2 separate regions of the Homo sapiens genome follow, and region 1 is linked to region 2. Evidence: promoter capture Hi-C in 16 types of primary human blood cells and fetal thymus (Javierre and others, 2016). All regions are on one chromosome and are shown on one strand. Each heading gives the region's core, a stretch centred on a gene start or on the middle of the fragment in contact. The rest is flanking DNA. Distances are from core to core; before and after follow the strand shown.

Region 1 (3,832 bases), core at 1,333-3,832, 170 kb after region 2:
AACATAGGGAGAACCTATCTCTACGGAAAAATTTAAAAATTAGCTGGGTCTGGTAGTGCACACCTGTAGTCCCAGCTACTTGGGAGGCTGAGGAAGGAGGATCATTTGAGCCTGGAAGGTTAAGGCTACAGTGAGCTGTGATCATGCCAGTGAACTTCAAGGCAAGATCCTATCTCAAAAAATAAAAATAAAAGAGAAAAGTACAAAAATAGGTTATTCCTATACTAGCAGTAACCAGATGGGACTAGCAAAAATAAGTCTTAATGACAACAAAAATATAAATATGCAAAAAATAAATTTAACCAAAAAAGATAAAAAGATGATGGATTTATAAGAAGAAAAATTATAAATATCATTGCAGCATATAAGACGTAATCAAACAGACACATAAAATCCCTAGATACAAAGAAAGGCTTAATGTAATAAAAACATTAAATCTCCCCAACTATTATATTCATATAAATATAATTCCAATAAAATCATAATAGTTTATTTATTTTTTTTTTTGAGACAGAGTCTTGCTCTGTCACCCAGGCTGGAGTGCAGTGGCACGATCTTAGCTCATTGCAACCTCTGCCTCCCGGGTTCAAGCAATTCTCCTGCCTTAGCCTCCCGAGTAGCTGGGATTACAGGCGTGCGTCACTGTGCCAATTTTTGTATTATTAGTAGAGATGGGGTTTCACCATGTTGGCCAGGCTGGTCTTAAACTCCTGACCTCAAGTGATCTGCCTGCCTGGGCCTCCCAAAGTGCTGGGATTACAGGTGTGAGCCACCTCACCCAGCAATAGTTGAGGGTTTGCTTTTTTTTTTTTTTTTTGAGAGAGTCTCACTCTGTTGCCCAGGCTGGAGTGCAGTGGCGTGATCTCTACTCATTGCAACCTCCACCTCCTGGGTTCAAGCAATTCTCCTGCCTCAGCCTCCCAAGTAGCTGGGATTACAGGTGCCTGCCACCACGGGTGGCTAATTTTTTTATTTTTTAGTAAAGACAGGGTTTCGCCATGTTGGCCAGGCTGGTCTCCAACTGCTGGCCTCAAGTTATTTGCCCACCTTGGGCTCCCAAAATGCTGGGATTATAGGCATGAGCCACCTCGCCCAGTCACAACAATTTAGTTTTGCTGTGTTTTTGTTTTTTTTTGCGGGGGGTGGGGGACGGGTTGGTAGCATTCATTTTTGATTAAATGATTTTAAACTTCAGAGAATTCCTAGAAAATAAATTTGCAAGAACAAAAATCCCTTGAAATCAAATAGACTACAGACACAAAATAGAGTTCAGGTCAAGCTAAGCATATTTGTGAACTTATATGACAGAAGCAATATTTAATTCAGTGGTTACAAGGTGGTGTGTTTCATAAATGGTGCCAACTGGCAATACTGAATTTTACCTCATCCTGGTGAGCAGTGCAGGTCAAGAAATCCCCTTACTCCAAAGGGAAAATGGCTTTTCTGGAAAATGGCTTACTGCAAAGAACCATCCTTCCCCATATGACTTAGAAGTCACGGATGTCCCCTGTTTACCTATGAGAAGGCCAGACACCCACTCTCCAAATTCCCATTCTTTGCCTCATAGATGACAAGCCTAACTGCTTGTCTCCACTGATCAATTGGAACAAAATGCTCTTTAGCCAAACTTGAACCAGGCTTCTTTCCTACAAGCTCCTAACTCTGCTTGCCCCCGAGCCTGGGCAAGCATCAAAAAAAGTCGAAATTCCTCCCCTCCCAATGGACCCTGCTTCTCAGCTTCTCCTGGGAATGGGCGCACCACTGTGGGACAATTTCCTGGCAGACCCCACTGGCCATTCCCCCTTGTTTGTGCAGCTTCCTTTCCACAGATTCTGCTTATCTCTGCCTGCCTCCTTACCCTCTACAAGAAAAGCCTTTTTCTGTTTGGTTTCAAGATGCTCTCAGGTTTCTGAGATGGGAGCATTCTCCCTTTTGCAATAGTCTGTCTTTCTAATTAAAGTCTCTTTTTATTTGACACAGAAAAAAGTGTGACACAGGCTTCTTGTTCAAGCTTGATCTTGATTTCATACCATATACCAGAGTAAATTCCAACTAGATTAAAGTAGAAAAAATTAAAGCAATAAAAACACTGAAATACATGTTAAGATTATCTTTCTATCTGGAATAGGGAAGTGAAACTAGGCAAGATGGGATATACAAAAGCCATAAAAGAAAGTTTAGACATATCTGATCAGAGGCTACATTTCACTAGTTACATATTACACATACAATTTTTCTTTCTTTTTTTTTTTTGAGATGAAGTCTTGCTCTATCACCCAGGCTGGAGTGCAGTGGCCCGAGCTCAGCTCACTGCAATCTCCACTTCCCAAGTTCAAGCGATTCTCCTGCCTCAACCTCCCGAGTAGCTGGGATTACAAGCGCCCAACACCATGCCCGGCAATTTTTTTTTTTTTTTTTAGTTGAGATACCACGCCTGGCTATTTTTTTTTTTATTTTTAGTAGAGATGGGTGCTGGGATTACTGTGCCCAGCCCATATAAAATTTTTCTAATTGCACATTTAAAAAAACATAAAATGCAAAAGACAAAAAGAGTTTAGGGAAAAATACTGCAATGTAACTGACAGATGGTTAATATCCTTAATGGACAAAGATGTTAATATCTCTAATGTAATATCCCTAATGTACAGTGTAACTGACAGACTGTTAATATCCCTAATGTACAATGTAATTTGTACACTGTTTACAAATTGATACGAAAAGGAAAAATCACCCTAAAGAAAACTGGACAAAGGATATGAACATTTGCAAAAGAGAAAAGCCAAATGGCCAATAGACCAAAACAATCCTCAATTGCACAAAGTAGTCAGAAAAATACAAAATTAAAGACAGCATCAACATCCAGCGCTGGAGGGGATTTGCCTTAATGAACTTAATGATTTTGCTGGTAGGACTAGGAAACTTTATAATCTTTTGGGGGAAGGAATTTGGCTATATCTATTCAGTAATGAAACCTGCAGTTAATAATAAAACTTCAAAACATAGGAAGCAAAAATTGAATAGCACAAGGAAAACCTGCCAGTACAGTCTCTCTCTCTCCTCTCTCTCTTTCTCCCTGCCACATCACCCCCAGTTGACAAGCTGAAGGGAATTATCAGGAAACACACATTTTAAAAGGCCCAACGCACAAGCTTGAACCAATAGAGCCGCAGAGTACGATAAATCCAACAACTAGAAGATACAGTGTTTTCAATCAAGGCACAAAACCATTTTTGAAAGCTGGCCTCGTACTTGAGCCTTAAGGCAAGTTTCATCAAATTTCAAACTCAACGTTCTTGGGCCACAAGGCAAATGGGCTTAGAAATCACTAACACAGGGATTAACTTCTTGTTCGTTTGCGGAAATGCAAAATGGTGTTAAGACCTGTAACATTTTCTGCAGTCCCTCTAAATTCCTTCTTTGAATAATCGATTCCTAGAACAGGACGCGACGGACCAAGCTGGGTCAAACTGCCGACAGCTCCATTGGGCAGCATGTCCACCCCTGATGACCAAATCCCACCAAACGTGCAGCTGGCACTCGGCCGCCTTTGTTTCCTTCCCCTAGAATAAAACTCCGCTGCTTTCCCACGTTCCTGGAGCAGCAGCCGGAATAAAGCGCCCATGGCCTTGCCCTTTGAGTCTCGGAGGATGTTTGCCACTCCAACAATGGACTTTTAAATAATTCAGGGGTCAAAAGGCGTGTGTGGGGGGGGGAGAAAAGTTACAAATCAGCACTTGAAACCGAACACAAACAAAAATCAAACAAATCCGAACTAATATAACAAATCAAAACTTTGATCTTTAGAAGAAAACTTCAACCTTAATGCTTCCAG
Region 2 (4,391 bases), core at 136-2,635:
GGGCGTAACCCAGACCCAGTCTTTGTTCAATCTCTTCTGTCCTCTTTTTCAGGGGCTTAGAGAACTACAAGGCCTGCAGAATTTCCCAGAGAAGCCTCACCATTGACTTCTTCCCCCCATCCTCAGACATTAAAGAGCCTGAATGCCTTTGAGTCACATGGCCCTTCTTTTTCCCCATAAACCCTGCTAGTTGCCACGGGGGCCTGTTCCTAGGGCACAAAGTTACTGAGAGACCCAGAGATCCAGTCTCTCTGTGGAACCTCCAAAATGCCCCAGCAGTCCTGCCTCCAGCCTGTTGCCTGGCAGTATTTGCCAGTTGACCTTATGCACTGCCCTCTCTTCTGTCATCTTGGCAACCTGGGCCCCCCACCTCACCCTTTCTTCCATTCCTTTTCCTAGACGCCACCCTTTGAATTGCCATAGAGAATGGGCCAATTCATGGTGGAGGTTTGTTCATTCCCACAACAATCAAAGGGCCCTAAGGTTTACGCTTTCACACACCCAATCATTCCCCAGGTACCCCAAATTACACCCAAACCCTAACTCAGCCCTACCTTGTCTTAGCCCCTGCTTGTAAGTGTTCCAGCTTCCAATGGGCACAGACCTGGATCCCGCTCTCCCTAGTCGGGCCCCTATTCTAGGTTGAGTCCAGCCACCGCCAATCAATGCAGAGCCAGGTTCCTCCCCTTTTTAACTCTGGCCGCAGTTCAACCCTGCCCTCTGAAAGCATTTCGTTTCTGCCACTCAATGCTCTTTCGTGTGCCTGACAGCCATCCTGCCCTCCTACCTCCGCTGTGTTCTAAATTCGTCTTTACCCAGCTCTATGGTCTTGTCTAACCGTAGAGCTGCCCTGCCCGCCTACGCGGAGCCCAGTCCGACCCACTCCCGCCGGCTGCTACGCCCATTTCTATACAAGCCCTGCTTCCGCTGAGCAGCATGGCGTGCGACACCGCCCCCTTGGTGTTTTGGCAGGGGTCTAGAAGTCCCTCGTCCGCCAATCAGAGAAAAACAGGGCCACCCACCCCCGTCCTTGGGGGCTGTCTTCCATCAATCCCATGTAAGCCAATCAGTGTGAGGCAGACCCCCGCCCCCCCGACACAGGCCCCGAGCCTTTTCAGTTGCTCACAGTCCGTCAGTCCTTGAGCCAATCGGCGTGGAGCACCGTGAAGGCCGAACGCGCCTCCTCGGGACTCCAGGGGCCGTGAGCGTTCCATCATTTCCCCTTACGCCAATCACGGCACAGCTCTGTAGGGAAGGGCCCGTCCCCCAACCCCTCGAGGCCTTGCGGCCGATTAATAGCGCTTTGGCCAATCAGCGAGCGGCGGGACATTGGGCTCCTCCTCCTCGGGCCCACGTGAGCTGTAGGGAAACGCAGGGGCGGCTTCTAGGTGCTGCCGCCGCCACCGCCACCACCACCTCCACCGCCGCCTCGGAACCCAGGCCTGGGGGGCGGTGGGGCCGCGTATGGAGCCCCCGCCCCCCGGAGCTGCCAACATTGCCAACGCCACCGCCACGCTACACACAGGTGAGCTCTGGGCCTGGAGGGTGGAGGGCCCAGTCCGTGACCCCACGTATCCTTCCCGCCCCCGCGCAGAGGATGTGGCTTGGCCGGTGGCCTGCTGGTGTTCGACTCCCCGCCGCCACCACCACGGCTGGTGGACCTGCGTGTGGCATTGCTCAAGCCCTTCGTCCCTTATAGTGGATCTGACCGTGGCCTAACCTCCCCCTCCCGTTGTATAATGGATCGGTCTGCGTGCTTATGTTTTTCCCCACGCCAACTTAGGGTGGACTCGTCCATAGGCTTTCCCCCTACCCCTACCCCCACCCGCCCCCCACCCACCCCCACTTATAGGGAGCTAGCCTGTGACAGTGTTCAGCCCCCTTAATAGTAGGTGTATCTGAGTGTTTGGATTTCTCCTAGCCTCAACTTTCAGGAGACCCGTCCGTGGCCTTATTTATTCCACCCTTCCTGTACATCGTAGCGAATCAATCCGTGGCGCCGCACTCCTCCGCATCCCTCTTTAACAGTGAGTCTACCTGAGTTTGTATTCCTGCCTCCTCCAGTCCCCCAATGCATCAGTCCATGGCTTTTTTCAAAACCACCCCCCCCCCCCACCACCACCACCACCATTTTATAGTGGATCAGTCTTCATGTTTGGATTCACGTCCCTTTAGCTATCAGTCCATTGCCCTGTCTCCTCTTTTTCGTAGACTGTCGCTCTAGCGCTTGGGGTTCTCTCCTTTTTAATAGTGGGTTAGTTTAGTGCTTTACATCTCCCTATTTTCAGTAGCTCAGTCCATAGCCTTTTCCCTCTCTGCTTTGAATCAGTCTGTGTGATGGCTTTTCTCTCCTCTCACTGTGGTGCAGGAGTCTGTAAGGTTTTCTGCTCCCCTTCCCCTCAGACGATGAGCCTCATCACCCCTCCCTTTGCAGTGGATCTGTTCATTGGCCTTCCTCCCCCACACCCCTGTATGCTTGCACAGTCCCCCGCATACCCTCCCGTGAGTCCAGTGCTTTGTAATTGGGGGAAGATCGGCCGTGTACTTTCAATTTCCTTCTCTTTTTTTTTCCCTTCCCAGAAGAGAACGTGCTGATCCTCTTTTCCTTGTGATGGAGCACTGTACGGCCTTCCCTGTCCTCCACCTCTTAATAGTGGGTCAGCCTGGTCACACTCGTAACCACAAAGACGTTCTGCCTCACTACAATAAGTGAATACATTAGCGCCAGTGATGATAGTAATGCCAATAGGAGCTAGCGTTTATTGAGCACCTGCCGTATATCAGGCAGAGTGTTTCATATGAATGAGTTCCTTTAATCCTCACCACAACCCCATGAGATAGGTAGTGAGGGAATTGGGCCATAGGGAGGTTAAATTCCTTACTCAAAGGTGGCCCAGGAAGTACTCAGGACACAGGATAATTTTTGAGGCTCCCCTCTTAGATCTCATCCCACCCCACGTGAGGCCTCAGTCCTTAAAAACCAAATTAGTTCTCACCTCCAAGCTTTTGTTCTTGCTGTTCCCTCTGCCTGCAGAGCAGTCTTCATTCCTCACCTTCTCTCAGCACCCACCCACCCCCCAATCCCAGCAGCTGTGTGACCTTAGATGAGTGATTTAACCACTTCCTCTCTGTGCCTTTTTCTTCATTTGTGAAATGGGGGATCAGAACTAGAATCCCTTCCAGTGTAAATAAATATTAACTGTGAATTAATGGTAAAACAAGTAACCTTTCTAGCATTACCGCCTATACCTTCCCACCCCCTTACTGTGCTCCAACCACACTGGTTCCACCACACAGCTCCTCAAACATAGCAGGCATGGGCCAGCCTCAGGGCCTTTGCATTGGCTGTTCTTTGTGCCTTGAACACCACCCCCAGATCTCTGCATGGTTCCTTTCAGCACTCTGTTCAAATACCAACCCCCAAAGGATGTTTACCACACTGTGGTGTGTGGAATGCAGTATAAAAAGATACATGTATGAAAGATGTTTCTAAGAATGCCAGTTTATATATGAGTAAGGGTTTTCCTCCTTTTCAAAAGGATGTGTTCACAAGACTGAGGTACGTAATATGCTCTGTAAAGGCATAGGTATAAAAGCTGTTTCTAAGAGTGCTAGTTGTATATGTGAATAAGGACTGTGTTGTTGCATTGAAAGAATGTGTTCACAAAACTGTGGTGTGTAGCTGGGCACAGGGGTGTGCACTTATAGTCCCAGCTACTCGGGAGGCTGAGGTGGGAGGATAGCTTGAGCCCAGGAGTTCCAGGCCAGCCTGGGCAATATAGCGAGATCCCTTTTTCTGAAAAAAAAAAACCCAAAAAACAACCACTGTGGTGTGTGTAATACACTCTCTTAAAGGCACAGGCGTAAAAGATGTTTCTAAGAGTGATTTGATTTTGTTGTACCTGGGTAGTGTTATTTCATTAAAGGTTGATTGTCACACCATGGTACTTAGAATATACTATACAAAGGCACATGTATAAAAAAGAAGTTCCTAACAATGCTACTTGTAAAAACAAAAAAAGTCAACCCCTCCCTGACCATCTGAAGCTGCACACCCAGCAGGGCTCAAGCCAGGTCCCTGATTTGTCCCGTTGCCCTTTATCACTGTCTGACACACTGTGTGGGTTACTTGTTTGTTGTCTGTCTCTCCTCATTAGAATGTGAGTCCCATGAGGACTCAGTTTTTGTCTGCTCATTCACCGCTATGTCTCCAGCAACTGAAAATGTACCAGGTAAACAGCAGATGCTCAATAAGAATTTATCCCATGAATAAATGGGAAAAAGATAATTTGAGACACCAGTGTAGGGGTCACATGAGGAAGAAGAAGGGATATGAGAGCTAATTAGTTGGGACTGTTCCTGCAACCAACCTTTACTGAGCCCCTTGTGAG

Evidence for each region. Contacts are between HindIII fragments. The CHiCAGO score rates a contact against its expected background, and 5 or more counts as called.
Region 1: a contact is called between a fragment that was not itself captured here and the fragment with the promoter of ELK1 in region 2, in 5 of 17 cell types (non-activated CD4 T cells, naive CD4 T cells, activated CD4 T cells and 2 more). The highest score is 6.4, in non-activated CD4 T cells.

Annotation. Positions count from the first base shown.
Region 1 is chrX:47,483,395-47,487,226 of GRCh38, reverse strand. LINC01560 (long intergenic non-protein coding RNA 1560) reads right to left here. Exons shown (of 1, transcript NR_126059.1): 1 at 2,000-3,832. Among named protein-coding and RNA genes, the nearest start is that of ZNF41, 2.1 kb to the right of the region's middle. The HindIII fragment of the contact is 1,138 bases long and covers 2,014-3,151 here.
Region 2 is chrX:47,647,557-47,651,947 of GRCh38, reverse strand. ELK1 (ETS transcription factor ELK1) reads left to right here and starts at 1,385. Exons shown (of 7, transcript NM_001114123.3): 1 at 1,385-1,525; 2 at 1,922-2,027. It overlaps UXT (ubiquitously expressed prefoldin like chaperone), which reads left to right. Exons shown (of 7, transcript NM_004182.4): 7 at 53-152. The coding sequence ends at 106. RefSeq lists a silencer at 1,201-1,610 and a cis regulatory region at 942-1,922. The HindIII fragment of the contact is 5,079 bases long and covers 1-3,005 here.